Regions from separate parts of the Homo sapiens genome. Here all the other regions are linked to region 3. Evidence: promoter capture Hi-C in 16 types of primary human blood cells and fetal thymus (Javierre and others, 2016). All regions are on one chromosome and are shown on one strand. The core of a region is centred on a gene start or on the middle of the fragment in contact, and the rest is flanking DNA. Distances in the headings are between cores, read along the strand shown.

Region 1 (5,084 bases), core at 1,179-3,678, 260 kb after region 3:
TCAAGATGTTGAAACAAGTGACACCTTGTGCCGTTGATTTCCTTCCCTTTTCCAGAGCTGTGTTGGTGGTGTATCTCAAACTAAAGGAGGTAACAGAATGGACTCTTGGGACGAACCTGATTTAGTTAGAGTTTCCACTCCCATCTTGAACTAGTGGTATAATGTAGGAAAGCAGTTCTCAAAGTGTGGACAGATGACCCATGGGGATCTCCTCTTACCCTTTCAGGGTAGCCTCAAGGTCATAACTATTTTCAAAATAATAGTAAGATGCTATTTATTGTTTTCACTGATACACTGATGGTTCAAAAGCAAGGCTGGGTAAAACTACTGGCGGTACCTTAGCACAAAGCAAGTCAGGGGCACCAAACTACTTGAGAATGCCCTTGAAGCAGTAAAATTTATTATTCTATTTTTATTTTTTTGAGGCGGAGTTTTGCTCTGTCGCCCAGGGTGGAGTGCAGTGGCACTATCTCGGCTCACTGCAATCTCTTCCTCCCTGGTTGTATTTTTAGTAGAGACAGTGTTTCGCCATGTTGGCCAGGCTGGTCTCGAACTCCGGACCTCAGGCGATCCACCTGCCTCGGCGTCCCAAAGTGCTGGGATTACAGGCATGAGCCACCGTGCCCGGCCTATTATTATTAAGTCTTAGCTTTTGACTACATGTCTTTTTAATTTTTAAGAATTTGTGATTAAATAAACATGGATAAAGCATTTATGCTGCCTAGGGAGGTGTGATTGTTGTCATGAAGGAAAAGCATTTGTGAGATTGGGTTGTGAATGAATGGCTTATTTCATGGAGTAGCATTTTTACTTGAAAGAACGACTAGCAGACTATGGTTTTTCACACTTAGTATTTGGCAGATATTTCTTGAAAATGAAGTGAGCTTGTCACTTTTAGGAAAACAACTGACAGTATTTATTACCAGTGATAAAATTTGGGTGAAAATTAGAATTTTTAAAAAGTTGACAGCTGGAGTTTGACAGCTTCCTAGTACTTAAAAGACTTTCCTTATGATATCAGTGGTTAAGGACTGCAATATTTTAAAATGTTGTTTAATGAAATATGTTATTTGGAAGATGGGCATAACTCAGTAAATCTAGGCTTTGCAAATGACCAATGCATGATGTTGCAAAATCAAGCAAAGGCAAAAGATCCTTTGAAAATTCCAGACATAGCAATGGATTTTAACAGTAAAAAAGTGGATTGATGTGGTTTCAGATTCCAAAATGTTAACTGTCCTTTAAGAAACTACTATTTGGCCTAGCGTGGTGGCTCACTCCTGTAATCCCAGCACTTTGGGAGGCCAAGGTGGAAGGATTGTGTGAGCCCAGGAGTTGGAGTTGAGCCTGGTCAGCATAGTGAGACCCTGTCTCTATTTATTAAAAAAAAAAAAAAAAAAAAAAAAGAAAGAAACTACCGTTTGTTGAGTTTTAGTATTTACCAAACACAGTTATCTGAAAAGGTTATTAAAATACTTCTCCCTTTTCCGACTAGATTTTCATTATATACTTAACCAAAGCTACATATAGCAACAGACTGAATGCAGAAGTAACTGTGAGAATCCAACCATCTTTTATCAAGTTAGACATAAAAGAGATTTGCAAAATGCAAAACAACGTTACTTTTCTCACTTTTTGGAGGGAAAGTATTTTTTGTTGAAATGTTATTTATGTTAACTTATAATGGGCTTGTCTTAAAATACATTGATAAATACTACATTTTAAAAATTTGTGGTAAATGTGGAAAGATAAAATTCACATAAACAAAAGATCTTTGGCGTCTTCAATAATTTTAAGAGTCAAAAAAATGAGAATCATTCAGTCAGTCCTATGTTTCTGCTCTTTACATCATTCAAATCTAACTCCCTTGGGGAACTTGGGAGAATTTATAAATAGTTGAAGTTGATGGAAGAGGCAGTGACCTGGGGAAGAATTCTAAAGCAAAAAAAGCTTGCTTTGAATCCTAACTGGGATATTTACTAACTGTAACCTTGAGGAAGTTACTTCGTCTCTCTAAACCACTGTTTTGACCTTATCTGTAAAATAAAAACTTTAGAGCTGGTTGATTACAAATCCTAGAGCTGGTTAATGCCTTTGCCATAATATCAATATGGTAACATTTTGATAGATTCTTTGGTATTCTTGTTTGTGATATTAAGCCATATTCACAAAAACTTGTCTTTTTTTTTTTTTTGAGATGGAGTCTCGCTCTATTGCCCAGGCTGGAGCGTAATGGCGCAATCTCGGCTCACTGCACCCTCCGCCTCCTGGGTTCAAGCGATTCTCCTCCTTCAGCTTCCTCAGTAGCTGGGATTACAGGCACGCGCCACCACACCTGGGTAATTTTTGTATTTTTCTAGAGATGGGGTTTCACCATATTGATCAGGCTGGTCTCAAACTCCTGACCTCTTGATCGACCCGCCTTGGCCTCCCAAAGTGCTGGGATTACAGGCGTGAGCCACCACGCCCAACTGAAAAACGTATTTTTATATGTAACCAAGGGGAGGAGAGCAGAAAAGAGACACTAACCTATTGCTAGGTGTTAGCAGAGTTAAAAGAAATTGAAAGCATAGAAATGGAATTTAGGCAACACACAGCTGTCATTGAAGAAAAGTTTTCCATCATAGTATAGATATTTTTCTTGGGAAAGGGACTCCTGAATATTGAACCCCTTTAAAGAAGAGAACTTGTTGCTTACTTGTTTTAGTAAAGAGCACAGAACTAAATATTTGGGTGTTTCTTGATACAGGATTGGCTACCAGACAAGAGGAAAGTATTTTGAGTTTGGAAATTTTAGGTTATTAAGACTACTTAAAACCCTTATGATTCTTACATATGAGGTACTATAACAGATGTTGTGAGGGACAAAATGGGCTGTGCAAAAGACTGGATAAATAAAAGCTTATTACATGTTTAACTATAGTTTTATACACAGATTAAGTATTCAGCCCTATAGGTTTTCTGGTATTAGTCCTTTTTAGAGCCAAAAATTGAGGTAACTTGAAAACATAATTACCAGTTATGTTGAGGATTATCATTGTTTATTTTTCACCCTGGAACAAGAAAGTGGTATTCTTAAAATGTTTGTTTTCTGTAAAATATTTTTCCTGTTCCAAATGTTCTTTTTATGTTGATTTTTGGGCAGGTATGTACTGGCAGTAAGTTGAAAACGTTAGATACCAAATTCTTCATTTCTGAATTCTTCATTCTTCATTTCTGGACTTTACAGCTATGAAAGAACAAGACAAAGGAATTCAGAGCTTTCAAGAACCAAGTATGTCAGGATAGTTGTGGAAAACAGATCTTTTTCTCATTTTCTTTGAGATGAAGATAGGCAACATTTGCTGCCCATTAAATACCTTAAAAGTATACAGGTGTATCTGCAGGATTCTTTTTGCTGCTTTTAAATAGTATATTGTTTTAAAAGGTCTGTTTTTATCTTGCCTTTACAATTATATAGACTTTTATTGACTAGCTGATCATATAGGGCCTTAGTATAGACTACCATATTCGCCAGCATTTAAGAAATAGTCCCCTTCCCTCCAGGAGAGTATTTATCTGGTACTCCCATATTATGGATTGAAGGATGAGACAAGAGACTGAGTATTGCTAATAGTTCTGTGTGAGCCTGCAGTGTTAAGTAAAACCTATTGAGTGCACAAAAAAATCATGTTACAATTACTACAAAATAGAGAAACCACCTAGGTTACCAAGATGTCAAATAATGGATTAATGGAAGAAAGTAATGTACCTCCTTGGTAGCCTACATAATCCACCTTAATTTGTTATTTCTTATTTAACTATTTTGCTATGTCTTAAGAAATGTATATTAAGTGAAAATGGATGCATAAAAATAAAAAAAGAGAAATGTATATATACAAGCTACATGAAAATTGGTCCTGGGAATAAATCAAGAAATTCAACCAACAAGGCTACCAGTTATTTAGTAAATACCAAAGAGATAGGTGGAATGTAGCAGTACAGAATATCACAGCTAAGATATGAGTAGGTAGTTCCACTCCCTCCTACCCCACCTCAGTTTTTATTAAGAAAATTTCACGCATGCGAAAAGGGAGAAAGAGGCTGGGCGCAGTGGCTCACACCTGTAACCGAAGCACTTTGGGAGGCCAAGATGGGCGGATCACAAGGTCAGGAGTTCAAGACCAGCCTGACCAACATGGTGAAACCTGTCTCTACTAAAAATACAAAAATTAGCTGGGCGTTGTGGCGCATGCATGTAATCCCAGCTACTCAGGAGGCTGAGGCAGGAAAATCACTTGAACCTGGGAGGTGGAGGTTGCAGTGAGCCAAGATCACTCCAGCCTGGGCAACTGAGCGAGACTCCATCACAAAAAGAAGAAAAAAGAAAAGGGTGAAAGAATTCTACAAGGAACACTTAAACTATCCACCACCTAGACAGAGTGACTTTTTTTTTTTAAGACAGAGTCTCGCTCTGTTGCCTAGACTAGAGTGCAGTGGCACAATCTTGGCTCACTGCAACCTCTGCCTCCCGAATTCAAGCGATTATCCTGCCTCAGCCTTCCGAGTAGCTGGGACTGCAGGCACCAGCCACCACGCATGGCTAATTTTTGTATTTTTAGTAGAGACGGGGTTTCACTGTGTTGGCCAGGCTGGTCTCGAACTCCTGTCCTTGTGATCCGCCTGCATTGGCCTCCCAAAGTGCTGGGATTACAGGCGTGAGCCACTGCGCCTGGTGACAGGATGATTTTTAATGTTTTGGCCCATGCCAAATATTTTTTGAAAGTTGGCATACTAGTATCTATAAGAAAATATCAAAATAGCCCACCTGTAGTGACAACTACTTGGGAGGCTGAGGCAGGAGGATCACCTGAGCCCAGGAGGTTGAGGCTGCAATAAGCCGTGATTGTGCCACTGCACTCCAGCCTGGGGGATAGAATGACACCCTGTCTCAAAAAAAAAAGCCAAATATCTATGTATTTGCTTAACCCCTTGAAAGTCACTTTCAAGATATTTCTATTAAATATTTTGTGCATTTCCTAGGAATAAATACATTCTCCTACATGAATATAATATGATTATCCTTTCTGTTTAAAAATTTTTTA
Region 2 (4,616 bases), core at 916-3,415, 280 kb after region 3:
TAAAAAGGAATGAAATACTGATACATTCTATAACATAGATGAACCTTGAAAACATAATGCTGAGAAAGAAGCCAGACATACAAAATTAGCCAGGTGTGGTGGTGCATGCCTGCAATCCCAGCTATTAGGGAGGCTGAGGCAGGAGAATCGTTTGCACTCGGGAGGCGGAGGTTGCTGTGAGCTGAGATCGCACCACTGCACTCCAGCCTGGGCAACAAGAGGAAAACTCTGTCTCAAAAAAAAGAAAGAAAAAAGAAGCCAGACACAAAAGGTCACATATTATATGATTCCATCTATATGAAATGTCTTGAATAGGCAAGTCCACAGAGAGAGAAATTAGATTCGTGGTTGCCAGGGGCTGGGAAGAGAAAAGAATGGGGAATAATTGCTAGGGGAAATGAGGTTTCTTTTGAGGGCGATGAATATGTTCTGGATCTAGGCCAGGCGCGGTGGCTCACGCCCGTAATCCTAGCACTTTGGGAAGCCAAGGCAGGCGGATCACCTGAGGTCAGGAGTTCGAGACCAGCCTGGCTAACATAGTGAAACCCTGTTTCTACTAAAAATATAAAAAACTAGCCGGGCATGGTGGCATGTGCCTGTAATCCCAGCTACTCGGGAGGCTGAAGCAGGAGAATTGCTTGAACCTGGGAGGCGGAGGTTACAGTGAGCCGAGATCACGCCACTGCACTCCAGCCTGGGCAACAAGAGCGAAACTCCATCTCAAAAAAAAAAAAAAAGAAAAGAAAATGTTCTGGAACTAAATAATGATGATGATGGTTGCACAGCCTTGGGAATATAAAAAAAAATCACTGAATTGTGTATTTTAAATGGGCAGTATGTGGATTATATCTCAAAGCTGGGTTTGGTTTTTTGTGTGTGTTTTGTTTTTAAGAAAGTATCAAGGCCAGGTGTGTGGCTTACACCTGTAATCCCAGCACTTTGGGAGGCCGAGGTGAGCAGAACATTTGAGGTCAGGAGTTCAAGACCAGCCTGACCAACATGGTGAAACCCCATCTCTACTAAAAATACAAAAAAATTAGGCGAGTGTGGTGGCATTTACCTGTAGTCCCAGCTACTTGGGAGGCTGAGGCAGGAGAATCGCTTGAACCTGAGAGGTGGAGGTTGCAGTGAGCTGAGATCACGTTACTGCACTCCAACTTGGGCTACAGAGCAAGACTCCATCTCAAAAAAAAAAAAGGAAAGTATCAGGAATAAAATTTTGGAATATTTTTACTATTCTGTTTGATGTTCTTTAGAATTTACTACTCAGTATTTTAAAATTATTCCTGTAGTTCTGACTCATCTTATGTTTGCACAGGAAAGAAACATTATGAGGTGAAATAAACTATTGCTTAATTCTGAGCTGTGAATGATGTGAATTTAATGTTATAAATTTCTTACAGTATAACTAATTATGGTTTTCAGTTCCTATTGTATTTAGCCCTCTATTTCTGGGCTTTAAGGGTATGGAAGTAAACTTAAAAGAATGAAGGAAGGCTGGGCGCAGTGGCTCACGCCTATAATCCTAGCACTTTGGGAGGCTTGAGGCGGGCAGATCGCCTGAGGTCAGAAGTTTGAGACTAGCATGGCCAAATAGTGAAACCCTGTCTCTGTTAAAAACTACAAAAATTAGCTGGGCATGGTGGTGGGCATCTGTATTCCTAGCTACTTGGGAGGCTGAGCAGAAGAACCACTTGAACCTAGGAGGCAGAGGTTGCAGTGAGCTGAGGTCATGCCATTCCAGCCTGGGTGACAGAGCAAAACTCCTTGTGAAAAAAAAAAAGAAAGAATGAAGGAAAAAAATCAAGAGAGAGCAAACTTAGAGGGAGAAAGTTAGTTGCATAATTCTTTGATTTATGTGCAAGGTGGGCAGATCACAAGGTCAGGAGATCAAGACCATCCTGGCCAACATGGTAAAACCCCGTCTCTACTAAAATACAAAAAAATGAGCTGGGCATGGTGGCATGTGCCTGTAGTCCCAGCTACTTGGGAGGCTGAGGCAGGGGAATCACTTGAACCCAGGAGGCAGAGGTTGCAGTGAGCCAAGATTGCACCATTGCACTCCACCCTGGTGACAGAGCAAGACTCTGTCTCAAAAAATAATGTGCTTGATACCATGTGATGTCTGAAGTATAGAAGAAAACTCATGGAATTAATTGTCACTGAGGTGGATTGTTTTATTTCATTTGTTTCTTAGGTTTTCTTTGTTTTGTTCAAGATGGGGTCTCACTTTGTCACCCAGGCTGGAGTGCAGTAGTGGCACGAACACAGCTGGCTCACTGCACCCTCCACCTCCCAGGCTCAAACGATCCTCCCACCTCGGCCCCCCAAGTAGCTGGGACTACAGGCACACACCACCATGCCTAGCTATTTTTCATTTTTTATTTTTGAGACTGAGACTCACACTGTTGCCCAGACTGGAGTGCAGTGGCACAATCTTGGCTCACTGAAGACCCCACCTGGGTTCAAGCAATTGTCATGCCTCAGTCACTCAGGTAGCTGGGATTACAGGTATATGCCACCATGCCCAGCTAACTTTTGTATTTTTAGTAGAGATGGGGGTTTCACCATGATGGCCAGGCTGGTCTCAAACTCTTGACCTCAAGTGATCTGCCTGCCTCGGCCTCCCAAAGTGCTGACATTATAGGCGTAAGCCACCACGCCTGGCCTTGTTTTGTTTTTGAGATGGGGGTCTCACTGTGTTGTCCAGGCTGGACTCGAACTCCTAGGCTCAAGTGATCCACCTGCTTCAGCCTCTCAAATAGCTGGGACTACGGGTGCATACCACTGCCCTAGTTTGGATAATCCTTTTAAAGGCTTTTTTTTTAAAGCACCAGAATTGTGATTGCCTGTTTCATCCTCTGGAAATAGAACCTTGTAAGACACTTGAATTGTCAGAATTCCTTTGAGCAAAGATTGCAGAAATCATTAAAATGCTTCTAAATAAGTAAGTATAATTTACCTAGTATGACTTTCCATAGTCTGGCTTTTGCTTTCCATTGCATTGTGAATCTAATCTGGTCTTAGAAAACCACTTTTTGATTGTACCATATTTTTGGGAAAATTCTTTTTTTTTTTTTTTTTTTTTTGAGACGGAATTTCGCTTATTGCTCAGACTGGAGTGCAGTGGCGCGATCTCGGCTCAATGCAACCTCTGCCTCCTGGGTTCAAGCAATACTCTTGCCTCAGCCTCCCGAGTAGCTGGGATTACAGGCATGCGCCACTACGCCTGGCTAGTTTTGTTATTTTTAGTAGAGACGGGATTTCTCCGTGTTGGTCAGGCTGGTCTCAAACTCCTGACTTCAGGTGATCCACCCACCTCAGCCTCCCAAAATGCTGGGATTACAGGCATGAGCCACCTTGCCCAGCCTTTTTGGAAAAATTCTAACAATCCACCAAAATTTAAACTTGACCCTGATATAAGAGAAAATATTTGCAGAAAATGCTGTTAAAATTCTTTATAATGGTATTTACGGGTTTCATGGAAACCTGGTCTGTCTTTAAGAGACTTGCTAATGCTGACTGATTTCCCATAAATGCAAAAAGCCTCCATCTTTCCCTTCTTGTATTTAATTGGGATGTTGAGCTAGTAATTATCTTAAGAATTTTTAGAATTAGGATAAATAAGAGATAATTTATTTTCTTTTGTCCTAGCAGTTAAAATAATGACTAAAAAATATAGACTTTTGCTTAGTCAATATTTTTCAACCATAAATTTCAAAAGGATAGAAAGAGATGGTTGGGGAACCTATAGATTAAAAGAGTTAGTTCATCAGTTGCACTTTGCAAACATTTTGTAACTGGATTCAGACAAATTACTTAAAAAATACAAGTAAATTTGAATTTTGACTGGGTATTTGATATTGAATAATTATTATAATGTTCAGGAGTTATGTTGGTATGATTCTTTTATCTTTTTTTGAAGTTCTTATGTAGAAGGTATATTTTGAAATACTTATAGATGATATGATCTAGAACTTGCTTTAAAGTGATATGGGAACTAGTAAGTATGTAGAAGGTATAGATGAAATAAGACTTGCCATACATTGATAATTATTGAAGCAGGGTGGTGGTTGCATAGGGGTTCACTATAGCGTTCCCTTTTTATGTATGTTTTAACTTCTCCATAATAAAACATTTAAAAATTTAAAAAACCCACCATAGATAAATTGCCAGTATAGTTTAACATGGATAGAACTTGCTGGAATTTTCTGTTTTATTTATCTATCTGCCTCTACAATCACTGGTCTTCTGGCTCAGTAACTGAGGGTCTAGTCTACTGATGAGCTCTCAGTTTCTGAGAGAGTATAAGATAAGCCACTGCTGGCCCATTAGTAGCCACCTACATACCTATTCCTTTGGTGGTCTAGCTTTGTAGTTAACTGTGGTGATATAACCTGCCAAGTGGAACATACATTTCAGAGGGGCCCATCCCATTCTGGTGATTTTGGGTAAAAAGTTGAGGCCATATTTTGCTTGACTCTTTGGTTTTTTGTTTCTTGTTGTTGTTGCTGTTGTTGTTGTTTTGAGACAGAGCCTTGCTCTGTCGCCCAGGCTGGAGTGCAGTGGCACAATGTTGGCTCACTGCAACCTCCGCCTCCCTGGTTCAAGCAATT
Region 3 (4,509 bases), core at 1,439-3,938:
TTCTCATTTCCTAAGAATCTAAAGCCAGGATCAGAGCTCTCCCTTTATAAATTCAATAATCTTTTTATGTAGGGCAGCCTAGCTTTGACTGCAGAGGAATAAAAAAGAGGGTGAGCTTGGGGGTGGTGGGCAGAGAAAGTATCCTGGAAGCCTCTCTCTCTCCTAGAGAGAAACTTTCCAGAATAGGCATCTGAGTCTCAGGGCTCCCCTGCCTTTACCTCACAGGACTCCCATCCCATGGCCTGAAAGAACACCAGAGATGTGTTCACCGTCACTCAGCAAGGAGAGTCTGATGAGTGGTACAACTCTTCTCCTCTAAACCCTGCCTCTTCTCTCAGACTGACACCTTTGGGGACCACAAACTAAGCAAAGGACTGGACGCATTTTGCTGTCTGCAGCTGTCTCCCCAATTACTGACTGGGAGGAGGAGTGAGGGGAGTTCATTTTAATTCATTTTTGTGAATGTTTAATATTTCAATTAATATGATTAGCCCCAAGCCTGAATGAGCAGCAGGGCGGCAGATCTGCTGAGAAGACATAGAGTAATGAGATCAACAGGGCCATAGGGTCTTCCCCTTCTCCATCCTCAGAGGACATGATCTGTTTAGCATCTCCATAAATACCAAGATCAGATTAGAAGGCAAGGAAAGGAGCAGTGGGGGTGGGGTAGGTGAGTGGAAAGTTACTTTCAAGATGTGTGTGCCCTTCTTGATTCCCTGGCTCTGCCGTCATTCGCTTCTTCTGAGCACCCACCACTGAGTCCTCTAGCACCTCCCCCCACTGCCACCCCATCTTAGGGGACCCTACTTGGGGGACCCGGGCATCCATGTGATGAAGTGTAATCAAGTCTACACACATACACATTCACTCAAATGCAAGCACCTGCCAGAGCGTGGCTCCAGGCCACAACAAAAAAACAGGCTAAGGAAGGATGGGAGGTGGTCCACAGAATCAAGCAGTAAAAAGAAAGACTCTCTCTCATCCAGGGCTTAAATGGAGACAGAAGAGGAAGAAAGGCCAGACTTCACCACTGCTCCCATTCTCAAGAGGAATGTTTGATGTGGGAGTTAAATGCGTGGACTCAGGAGCCAGACTGCCCAGGCTCCAGTCTCAGCTAGACCTCTTTCTAGCTGCATGGCTTTAGGCAAGTTATTTCAGCTCTGTGTCTTGGTTACCTCCTCTCTATTTGGAGATGACAAAATCTACATCATAGGGGGGTGGTGAGGGTTTAGGAGTTAGTAAATATAAAGCACTTGGCACAAAGCCTGGGACACTGTAAGAGCCATGTAAGCACTGGCTGTTACTATTATTTCCCTTCCAGAAGAGAAGCCTGCCTGCCGTGATAGCTCAGGAATGGAGGCCCCTGGGACTCAGCTGGGACACAGTTTAGAGACACGAGTGCCTCTGTGGAAACAGCAGCCCTACCCCGGGGGAGAAGAAGGGAATGACAGGAAGACAGGGTGCTCTACAAAAGCCCAGAGCCCCAGGAGAGCCCCCGTTGCTGAGCACTGACAGAAAGCAAGGGCTACCACCACTGACAAGGTTTGATGTCCACAGATAATCCCTGCACTGAGGGCGTGCTCTGAGTGGGCCCAGTGCATGGAGGGGTCACGCTCCCTCCAGATCGTGGAGCCTGCCAATCATCCATAGAAGTATCCATGGTCAGGGGAGCAATGGTCCCCGAATGTGCCTCCCCTGCTCTTCTGTGCTACCTGGCTCAATTTGAGTCCAACTCAAAGAACCCAACTGAAGAAAGAAGCAAAGGAAAGAGTAATTGGGTTTCTGCATCCTAAGGGGAAGCTTGACAGCTGTGGTTCTTCCCACTGAAGGAATCAGGAATCCACTGTTGTCAGAGGTTGTTTGCATGGAGTGTTTGTTAAGCTCCTGCTACGCATGAGCAAGACAGGGTGCTAGACACTGTGAACAGTAAGATGCTGAATTAAACGGTGTCCTGGTCTTCAAGGAGCTTACAAGTGAGAGCGCCCGCGGCGCCGCCTCCGCGGCCTCCCTGCCCACGCACTTATACACACAAACCCCCCAGAGGGAGAGAAGGGGGCATCGGCAAATGCCAGAAAGCTATCGTTTTTCTTGGTTCCTTTTCTGGAAAATATACAGTTCTCTTTCTGCATTCTTCTCATCCTGCTCCTCCTTCTCCACGTCCCTTTCCATTTTTCCTCTCTGCATTTTTTCTTTTTCCCCCAGACTCTGCGACCTGCTTCCCTCTCCATCTATATCTCCTTTCCCTTCAGCCTATGCAACCGTCCTTTCTCATTTTTCTTTCCCCTGATTTCTTTCCTTGACTCTCTACTCTTGGGGCTCCCCAGATGCCGGGCTCCCCTCTTTCCCCGCCACCCCCCATCTGCTGAGTCTTCCAGCACCGGGGACAGCTCCAGCCCCCGGAACAATGGACCCCACTTTAGGGTTCCTCTATAAATTCTCCATCTTAGTGCTTTGCCCAACTCCTGACTGGGGAGTAAGATGGGGGAAGGGTTATTATCAACAGGACCAGCTGCTCTTCTGGGGGCGGGAAGGGAGTCAGGGAGGATGGAGATAGAAAGAGGGCGTGGCTCGTGCCTGGATTGTGCGTCCCTCTCCAGGGTAGAGAATTTGTATTCGACCCCTGAGACTGACATCACTGATGTCAGGGGAAAGGAGGTGGGAGTGGGGAGGGGGGTGTGGAGGGGGGAGGTTTTTGTTGAGGAGAGCGCGGCCGGAGAGCAGAGCTCCGGGACCCAGGTGACCGGGAAAGCAGGCAGCCCCAGCGGCGGGAGCAGCCGGCAGCAGCCCAGGCCCGGGGACTGGGGTGGGGGTGGGAGGGGGGCTGAGGGGAGGACCTGAAGGGGGGCGGCAGGGCAAAAGGGACCCCTGGAGCCCTGCCGCCATCAGAGATCAAGCATCTGGCATCAGGGATCTTCGGACCCAGCAGAAGGATCCGCCACAGGGGAGGTGTCCTCCCAGGGAAGCCAACGAGAGATTCACCTGCCCCACATCAGGAGTGGGCCCCCCTTACTGACGCTGCTGGCAACCATAGCAGGCCCCTTAACCCCTCAGTCTCCTCCCCATCACCCTCCTCAGGCCCTTTCCCCGCCTCCAGCTCTCATCTCAACTCCCAGTTCCCAGCCCTCTAAGCCCTAGCACCCCCGGCTACCACCTAACCCTCCAGGTCTTGGCCATACTCACCCCCATCCTGGGACATTTGCCAGATCTCTGGGAGGGAGATCGTTTGTTTAGGCGATGCCCCCTGGTGGCATGACAGCGTCTGCCTAGACCCCTGACCCCTAGCACTCAACTCCCTGGGCCTCCTTTGTGTGAAGAGCCGCCCCTCTGCTTAGCAGCGTGGTTGGGGGCCAAAGGGAAAGCCAGCCCCAGCTGGGCCCCCGGGCCCCACCACTTATCTCCTTGCTGGGCAGCTCCCCTTGGCCTTTGGGCCTCTCCCTGCTCCCCTCGGCCCCTCCTCCTGGGCCGCCTCAATGAAGGAGCCGGATGCCATCAAGCTGTTTGTGGGGCAGATCCCGAGGCATCTGGAGGAGAAGGACCTGAAGCCCATCTTCGAACAGTTTGGTCGGATCTTTGAGCTGACTGTCATCAAGGACAAGTACACCGGGCTGCACAAGGGTGAGGGGTCGGGCAGGCTGAAGAGGCTTCGGGGTGGGCTGGGAGGCTGGGGGAAGTTAAGCCAGGCTGGAGGGGTGGAGCGGCTGGGAAGGGCTGATGTGGAAGGAGAAGAGTTCAGGCCTGAGGAAAGTGGATGGAGGAGCTGAAAAAGAACTCAGCTAGAGTGATCAGGAAACCCCGGTGAAGGACTAAGGAGGGCCTCTTTTGGCTGAAGAGTTGTCAAGACGGCTGCAAAGATGTGGATCCCAGACATATGGGTGTGTTGATGTCATGGGATGAACTCAAGAAAGAATGGAGGGACAAGAGAGCTGGTTTGGGAGATAAGCAGCTGGGTAGGGGTGTGTGTGTGTGTGCGTGTGCAGCAAGACTGAGAATCTGAGCAGCCTCAGATAATATTGGGATGGGGGTCAGGACACAGGGTCAGGTGTTCAATGTGGAAAGCGTGGAGCTGGACTGGGCAGGGCAGCTCCAGGACTAAAGAGAGGGACTAGGAAGCAGGGCATGAAGGCTGGAGATTGGTAAAGATCTGGAAAGTGTGGGAGGCTTAGAAAGTTAAGAGAGTGGGGGAGAAGGGAGGGTGCTCCTCAGGCCTATCCAAGGGCTGTGCGGCTAAGTGGGGGCGGTCAGGGTCAGCACTTGGAGAGCTCCACACACCGGGGATCCCAGGGGCCACACCAGCTCCCCCTCCACCTGGCACAGGGAAGAGGCACTTCCGGCTAACTAACTGTTCTTCCCTTCCCTTCTCTATTTCACTCTCCGTCCTCCACCTGCCTATGGTGGAGGTGGGGAGAGATGAGGAAATAGGGAAAATGGGAGAAGAGAGGGATGATGGTGATCAAGATGGAGGGAGGTGGAGGTGAGGGAGAGAGGGGAAAGGAGAACAGCTCAGCAGGA

Evidence for each region. The method cuts DNA at HindIII sites, captures the fragments that hold promoters and counts their contacts. A CHiCAGO score of 5 or more calls a contact.
Region 1: a contact is called between a fragment that was not itself captured here and the fragment with the promoter of CELF3 in region 3, in 16 of 17 cell types (M2 macrophages, M1 macrophages, M0 macrophages and 13 more). The highest score is 20.3, in M2 macrophages.
Region 2: a contact is called between a fragment that was not itself captured here and the fragment with the promoter of CELF3 in region 3, in 9 of 17 cell types (M0 macrophages, M2 macrophages, M1 macrophages and 6 more). The highest score is 11.0, in M0 macrophages.

Annotation. Positions count from the first base shown.
Region 1 is chr1:151,452,217-151,457,300 of GRCh38, reverse strand. All of the region lies in intron 1 of POGZ (pogo transposable element derived with ZNF domain), which reads left to right. Among named protein-coding and RNA genes, the nearest start is that of POGZ, 4.7 kb to the left of the region's middle. The HindIII fragment of the contact is 951 bases long and covers 1,953-2,903 here.
Region 2 is chr1:151,432,080-151,436,695 of GRCh38, reverse strand. All of the region lies in intron 3 of POGZ (pogo transposable element derived with ZNF domain), which reads left to right. Among named protein-coding and RNA genes, the nearest start is that of POGZ, 25 kb to the left of the region's middle. The HindIII fragment of the contact is 9,229 bases long and covers 1-4,616 here.
Region 3 is chr1:151,714,982-151,719,490 of GRCh38, reverse strand. It overlaps CELF3 (CUGBP Elav-like family member 3), which reads left to right and starts at 2,688. Exons shown (of 13, transcript NM_007185.7): 1 at 2,688-3,615. The coding sequence starts at 3,471. It also overlaps a transcript of RIIAD1 not described here. RefSeq lists an enhancer at 2,464-2,758. The HindIII fragment of the contact is 2,919 bases long and covers 1,803-4,509 here.